2 separate regions of the Homo sapiens genome follow, and region 2 is linked to region 1. The links are contacts of gene promoters, found by promoter capture Hi-C in blood cells and fetal thymus (Javierre and others, 2016). All regions are on one chromosome and are shown on one strand. Each heading gives the region's core, a stretch centred on a gene start or on the middle of the fragment in contact. The rest is flanking DNA. Distances are from core to core; before and after follow the strand shown.

The links. Contacts are between HindIII fragments. The CHiCAGO score rates a contact against its expected background, and 5 or more counts as called.
Region 2: a contact is called between a fragment that was not itself captured here and the fragment with the promoter of LRRC53 in region 1, in 1 of 17 cell types (erythroblasts). The highest score is 6.1, in erythroblasts.

Annotation. Positions count from the first base shown.
Region 1 is chr1:74,510,966-74,514,875 of GRCh38, reverse strand. It overlaps LRRC53 (leucine rich repeat containing 53), which reads left to right and starts at 2,265. Exons shown (of 5, transcript NM_001382280.1): 1 at 2,265-2,350. All of the region lies in intron 25 of FPGT-TNNI3K (FPGT-TNNI3K readthrough), which reads right to left. All of the region lies in intron 23 of TNNI3K (TNNI3 interacting kinase), which reads right to left. The HindIII fragment of the contact is 6,650 bases long and covers 761-3,910 here.
Region 2 is chr1:73,873,006-73,876,915 of GRCh38, reverse strand. No RefSeq gene overlaps it. Among named protein-coding and RNA genes, the nearest start is that of LINC02238, 200 kb to the right of the region's middle. The HindIII fragment of the contact is 3,401 bases long and covers 349-3,749 here.

The DNA.
Region 1 (3,910 bases), core at 1,016-3,515:
ACATCTGCAACAACCCTGTTTCCAAATAGGGTCACATTTTGAGGTACCAGGGTCTGAGACTTCAACATATCTTTTTGGGGGATACAATTCAACCCACAATACCCCTTCACATTTTTACCACAGTCTTGATCTTGTTTTTTATCATGAGTTCCAAACAGAATTTCTTATGGTGTCCTAAAAAGAGCACACATGGCTTTGGGATTAGATAGACTGGAGTCAATCCCAGCTTCCCCCCTTACTATCTCAGAAGATGTTTCCTGTTTTGACCAGTTTTCCCATCTTCAAAATGGAGATAATATCTACCTAGCAAATAATTGGGGATATTATATTAATAATATGTGTACTAGTACATAGTAGGTTCTCAATAAATTCTATCAAGACTTTTCTTCTTAAGTGAATAATTGTTAGATAGTAGAGAACAACAGCAATTTCTATTAAAATGGACCTTTTCATTAATGCTCCCCTTTTTACTTAAATGCTTCCTCTCGATAAGGAACTTCTGTGCAAGTGTATACACAATCACACAAATTGCCAAAAGCATCACAAAGCGCTTTCAGCTTGTCAGCTTGTAAGCCTCTGACAAATACATAGAATTGTGTGAAAACGCTTTAAAACAATTGCTCCTAGCATTTTGGTCAGAATGTATTTATTAGACCGTATCTTATACTTGATTGTGAAAATAAACAAGGACATAAATGATCTGGCTTTAAATGCTCTATAAAATCTGCATTACAAGACTCTATGATTCATAAAGGAAGCTTCTATTTTGGTGTGCCTGGGTAAATTTGGCTATGCAAACTTCGAATAGCCTTTGAATTGAAAAACGCAGTTATCGTTTACTGGCTGACAACCTTTTCAAGGGAGAGAGAGGCAGGCACTGTACAACCAAAGATAACTTTACTTAATTAGTTTTTGGAAGATTATTTACTCCCCTTAGTCTATAGAAAAACAAAGGTCTGTCAGCACCAGATGCATCTGAGCTTTGCAGATGCGGTTGTGGCTTCTTGAAATCTTTAAAGATTCATCTAAAATATGCTTTCAGGTCTCCTTTTTGTGAAACTTTGACAGGATAATAGAATTAGATTTGCTGAAATTCACTAAACTGTAAAGTAATGTGTCATCAGCTTCACTTACTTTCCAAAAAATATTTCTCTCTGGTAATGCTCATCAATCTAGCTTTTCAACCCCTAAACATGAAACTCTGAAACAAAAAGGATGACTCCATCAGTTACGCAAGTGACAAGATGTTAAACATTTAACACTCCCACATAGTAGCGCCAGCTGCCTCTGGATGAAGCAGATTTGCTTAGGTTTGGCATAGAGAAAAAAAGGAAGACAAAGAGAAGAAAAATGAAAGGAAGAGGAACTCCTCTTGCAGTGAGAATGCAAAGTTCTCTGCAGATGTGCAGGAGTCTGAAGTGGGATGTGCCTTCTGCACAAACCTTTTCTTCTGAGGGAACATTGCAAAGACAGTCATCATCAGGTTCTCAACTCCTACTACCAGTGCCCCTGCATCCCCAACATTTCATGGACTCACTCTGATAAGAACACCTAGTGCACTGGATTAAAATAATGAAAGGACAGGGACTCAGTAAATTTCCACATCCCGGTATAATTTCTCAATAAATATCAGCTGAATAAACGAACTAGGAAAGCACACGTGGACCTCTGGGTCATTCGGACTCTTTCTCCACAACCATTTCCTCATCTTAGGCACCTACCTCTGCTGTAATCTCAGGCCAGTGAAACAGTATCGACTGAGCAAGCTGTGTGCTAGGTTGATTCTAACAACAGAATCCCTTGACTTTGTTAACAGCCCCAAACTGGCATCAACTTTAAAGAGTCAAGACTATTTTCCTCTTTAAGTGTCTTATCAAGAGGAATGTTAGTGAAAGGGCAAAAGTCGTCTATAGTTTTCCACGGTGAGCCATTTACCCGGATGAGGGACAGAAAAGGCCAGCTTTAGGTGATCACATAGTGACCCCATCATAAGGCTTGTTAACAGAGAAGTTTTCCTTGTAGAGTGAGGCATGCTGCAGGGGGTGCCCATTTTGAAGAATACAGTATGAAGCTCCCAACAGTGAAGACAGAATGGTATAAATAGCAACCCGTCAGTGGTAGGTGTTTGTTCTTTCACTCAGTGGACTTCTGATGAGTAACTACCATGTGCCAGGCGTTATTCCAGGCACTAAAGGATGAAGCCAGGAGGGGGTGGTGTGGGAGTGGAGATGCATATAAAGAGGAATAAGGCATATGGCTGAGATGCTGGACAGTTAACTCAGTAGGTCTCAGATTCATCATCCACCTTTTAATGTAGAGATTCACAAACTACAAGCTGTGAGACCTTTGGGTAAGTTAATTTCTTTCTTTTGGTGTTTTTGTTATGATGGCTGGATTTTTACACCTTTATTTCTCTTTCCTCACCATTTAAAGAGACAGACTTATAAACAGATGATCATGTGGGTGATGTCATCAGTACAGGAATGTCATCAGTGCAGGAATAGTTGAGTGCCATGAGCCACCCTGCAGTGTTGCCTGTTTTGCACAGTTCTAGGGGCCAATCTTGGGTTCAAGGTGGAGCTCTACTGTGTCTATGTCACTCATGTCTCATCTAGATTACCATATTATCCCTAGCTCCATGTTTGAGTCTGTACAATCACTGACAGTAAACACAGCTGCAGAAATCATGCCCCTTTATGGTCCCTCACAGGTTCGAGTCATGCCCCAGGGCTATTTCAATAAAGACTGGTGGCTGCTATATCCAGTCCCATCCAGATCTTTTCATGCTCACTGCCTGAATGAAGAGAAGAGTCTGAGGTCTCAGTGACTGGAAGGGAAGCTGCATGAAGGAAAGCTGCCCTCTTCCTTCCGATTTTCCTTGGGTACTGAACTTACTTGACTCCATGTTCTTTTATTTCTACTTCTATTGACTTTAGATCCTCATCTATAGCTTCTGCTCTACCCACACTCAACCCTTTGCTGTTCCCAAATGTACTGTGCAGGTTCCCACTTTCCTGCCTTTGTCCCTGTTGCTTCCCTTTCCTAGTACACTCTTTCTTCCTTTCTCTGCTTGGTTAACTCTGCCAAACTCAAGTGAAACGGGATGGCTTTTGGGAAGCCTACCTTGACTCTTCTCAGGCTCACAGGGCTTCCTACACATGGCTCAGTACTTATCTTCCTGTGTGTTTCTCTGACCTCCTCCCTTAAACTGTGAATTCCCCCAGGACTGAAGAGATCTCTAATCCATCATTGGGTGTCCAATATTTACTACATGATTCAATATATAAGAGCTGCTTAATAAATGATAGATAAATGCATATCCAATGGAATTAGATCAGTGAAGAGGCTAGCGTAATAGGGAAAATGACACATACATTTGTGTTTTCCACCTGTAAGTAATATATTGTTAATTCTTTAAATAAAGAAAATAAGAGTGAATTACTTGAGGTCAGGAGTTCGAGACCAGGAGTTCGAGGCCAACATGGCAAAACCCTATCTCTACTAAAAATACAAAAATTAGCAGGGTGTAGTGACGTGTGCCTGTAGTCCCAGCTACTCGGGAGCCTGAGGCACGAGAATTGCTTGAACCCGGGAGGCAGAGGTTGTGGTGAGCCGAGATCGCACCATTGCACTCCAGCCTGGGCAATAAGAGCGAAATTCCATCTCGGAAAAAAAAAAAATAGGCCGGGCACGGTAGCTCACGCCTGTAATCCCAGCACTTTGGGAGGCCAAGGCGGATGGATCACCTGAGGTGATCACCAGGAGTTCCAGACCAGCCTGGCCAACATGGTGAAACTCTGTTTCTACTAAAGATACAAACATTAGCTGGGCATGGTGGCAGACGCCTGTAATTCCAGCTACTTGGGAGGCTGAGGCAGGAGAATCACTTGAACCTGGGAGGCAGAGGTTG
Region 2 (3,910 bases), core at 800-3,299, 640 kb after region 1:
TTTTCTGGGACTTGATCCTGCAAAACCAGTTGAACCATTTATAGAGAGGTAGTGAAAAAAAAGTCATTTGTTTTGATGAGTTCAGTCATTTTTAGAAGTGGGACACCTAAAATGAAAAAGAGAAACATTAATATTAGAGATTATATTGAAAAGCCAATAGCTTAACTCTGAAGTTAACCAGTCCAGTGAATTTCAAGACATTGAAGGAGGAAAATCTGTCAATTATGCAGCATGGATCATTGAATTTTTTCCAGTACTCTAGATAGTATGTCAATGCTTTCATTGAAATTGTCCAGTCTTAAACCTCCTATATAATGACATGGATGATCTGAGCATTTCATTCAAGCTTTCTTAGTGAATCAAATAATAATTTGTCTAGCGAGAAATCCAGTCCATATATGGCCCAGTCCATATATGAGGTCTTCCATATCACTGAGCTTTGGTTCTCAAGGCTTCTTAAGATCCTGAGGAAAAGGTCAAGCTGGAAGGGAACAGAGTCTGGATGGGGATCTGGGTTTTAAGGTTTTAGCTGTCAGTGACCTTAGGTCAGGTGGGAGGGAGAAAAATTGGAAAAGTTAGTTTGGAGGATTGTAGCCAAATACTAAAAGAAACGGAAAGAATTCAAAGTTTAGCAAAGATGAACAATTTGCAGGTAGGTAAGCAAATTATCTTTTTAAAGGGTGGGAGAAGGAGGAGGAAATAAATGAAATCTCTACCAGATAAGAGAAGATGAGTCATTGAAACAAAGAATTCCTCAATAACTTTACCTCGAAAATAAAATGAAATACCTAGAAATATATAATTAATATTTTTTTTGGAAACTCTTTATTAGTGTTACATCACTTATATTGCATGAAAATATTTAAACCAAATAAAGCACAATATATTGTTATTTATAATAGTAGTTGGATTAGTAAATGAAATTTTTTAGGATATCATTACAAGCACCAAATATTGCTAGAGAAAATTAATACATTTACCTAATTCTCTCTTTGGAAGTTATAAAAGTGAAATTTTGAGAAGAGAGAAAACATCATGCACAGTTTAAACTAACTTTTGCCACTTACATACACACGTATACAGACATTTACAGACACATATGCATAGGTGGGTTACATTTATATGCTAATAAGTTACTATGATTTTTTTCTGGATATTAGTGCTATCAGTGAATTAGGATTTTTATCTTTGCACTATTGTATTTCCTACAAAAGAACATGTATTAGTTAAATTTAAAAAGTAATTAAATACCTGGAGCAAAATAGATCACATTAGTAATGGCGCTTAACAACACCTGAGGAGTCACATGAAGACTATAACAACAAAGAGAAATGAATCAAATCTTAAAAAATAAAATGTGGGCTCACAGTAAATCCTTCAGACTGCTATTTAGTTAATAATAAGTGAGAACAGCATTTAATTTATATTCAGAATAAAAAACATCAGTGGAGAATTTCCTAAATTTCCTAGAAAATAAATATTAAAAGATGTAGTATAATTTTTTATTCTTATAGTCAAATGAATATAAGTTGGTTTTCAGAGTTTACTTTTTATTATTAAAATACTCCTATGATAATCTATCAGCAAATTGCCACAGGCTTTGATATTGACTTTTGATTGCTAAAATAATCTTTTTAATTTATTTTTTTACTCTTTGGACCAAATATAGGTCTCTATATTCTTTTAAAGATTGAAAAGTGGCAGAATATACCACTCCAAAATATGCCACTGTGGCATAAAGATTATTTTGAGCTGAAGGCAGCTGAGAAACAGCAGATAAAAGCAGAGCTCTATCTTCCCCCATTTGCCTGAAAAGCAGGACAAATATTTAAAAAAGCATCTCTCTTCCCCTCTCTTACCAGAAGCACAAAGGTTGATCACTGAAGATGACATCAGCCTGGAGTCAGCACCAGAGGAGCCTATGTCACAAGCTTTACTAGCTGGAATGTATTTAGTTCCCCATATATTTGCCTTCCCACAGTTTTCTGCCCCTGGAGACTCTAGGCCCTTTTCCCTTTGTTCTGTCATTTCTTTACAAATTTATTGTTCTTCAGTGATGATGCTGCTTAAAAAAGAGTTGTAAACCACTTCGTTGAGAGGTACATTTTCCCTGACTTTTCTCCCATATGTATGAGGTATACATGTTAATAAACTTGTTCGTTTTTCTCTTGTTAATCAGCTTTAGTTACATGGGTCCCAACTAAGAACTTAGAAGGGCAGAGGGAAAATTATTTTTCCTTTCTACAAGATGGACATGTGATTAAAATGGCCATTAGTATATCAGTAAATTTCATGTTCTTATAAAGCAAAATTTATCAGGGGAGAATAAAACCTCTCTTAATAGAAGGAGACTAATGCAAATTTTGTAGAATTAAAATAAACTGTTCCCAGAAACAACATAGTAACTAATAGAATATATCTTTAATATTAAAATGTCAGGATAAAGCAAAATTAGATTGAATGTGTAATGAGAATTATCTTAAAAACCATCAGAAACATCTAAAAGCACTGACAGTTTTGCATATGACACAAAATATTTGTCTTAAAAATAAAAAGCATATTTAAATGAGTTATTTGGCATTGGGGGAGGCTTTTGTGTGAAGAGTCTAGCAATACACTTCTGTCTCTGGAATAGGGAATGGAAGCCAAATCCAACACAATATAAGGACTACTGTGTTATTTTGAGAAGCACAATAGTGAAAATATAATATGGTTTCAAGGGTGACAATGGCAGCAACTAGAATACCACTGGGCAGAATCACTAGGCTCTTGGGGGCTGTCTCTGTCCCACCCTCCCTTGCCTGTGAGTCTCAATTCTCTCATACTCAATTTTGGGGTTCTTAGAGATGTTTTGAACCACCACACTGGGCAGTATTTAGCTGAGGCTTATTTCATCAGTTGAGGCACAGCAAATTTTGGGCCCAGCCACTGTCATCTCTCCTAAATGATCATAGAAAACACTAGACAGCTATTGACAGGTGCACTCTCAGACAATAGCATAGCAAGAATGACAGGCCTTTGACTAAGTACAAGAGTGGTTGGAAATTTGGTTTGATTCCCAATCTAATCTATTGTTGCTACAACAAAAACTTTTTTTTTTCTTCTTAAAGACAGAGTCTCACACTGTTGCCCAGGCTGGAGAATAGCAGCATGATTATAGCTCACTGCAGCCTAGAATTCCTGGGCTCAAGCAGTCTTCCCACCTCAGCCTCATGAGTAACTGGGAGTTTAGGCATGTGCCATCATGCCCAGCTAATTTTTTAAAATGATTTCTTGTAGAGATGGGGATCATGCTATGTTGCTTAGGCTGATCTTGAACTCCTGGCCTCAAGCGATCTCTATGCCTTGACCTCCTGAAGTTCTAGGATTACAGGCTTGAGCCACCATGCCAGCCAAATTCCATTCTTGACTTCCTACTTGGCTATTCCTATCGGATTCCAAGGCCTTATTTGGAAATTAAAAAAAAAAATTGACTTCCTTCTTTCCTTCCTTCCTTCTTTTCTCTCTGTCTGTCTTTGTCTCCCTCTCTCTTTTTTTTTTTTTTTCCAATATCAGTCCTTCTTATTTCCTAGGTAATGTGAATAGAGTCCTGACTAGCAAAAGGGTCAGAGTTAAGAAAGGACCAAACATTCAAAGATTTCTGCTTTAAGAGATTATTTTGCCATATGGATGATATTTTGCCATTTGTTGAATGCCTAGTATATACTAGGTATTTGGATGCATTTCATATAAACCTTCAAAGCAAAGCTTCAAGATCAGTGATTTATAGATGAGGAAAAGATTAAGGGGGCAGCCCTGCTATAAATTCTTAAAAAGGATCTCTGGATTTTAGAGAACACCCTCTTCAGCAAGCAATAGCAAAGGGGCAAAAGAGAAAGATGATGCTCAAATATGAAGTCAACAAAATATA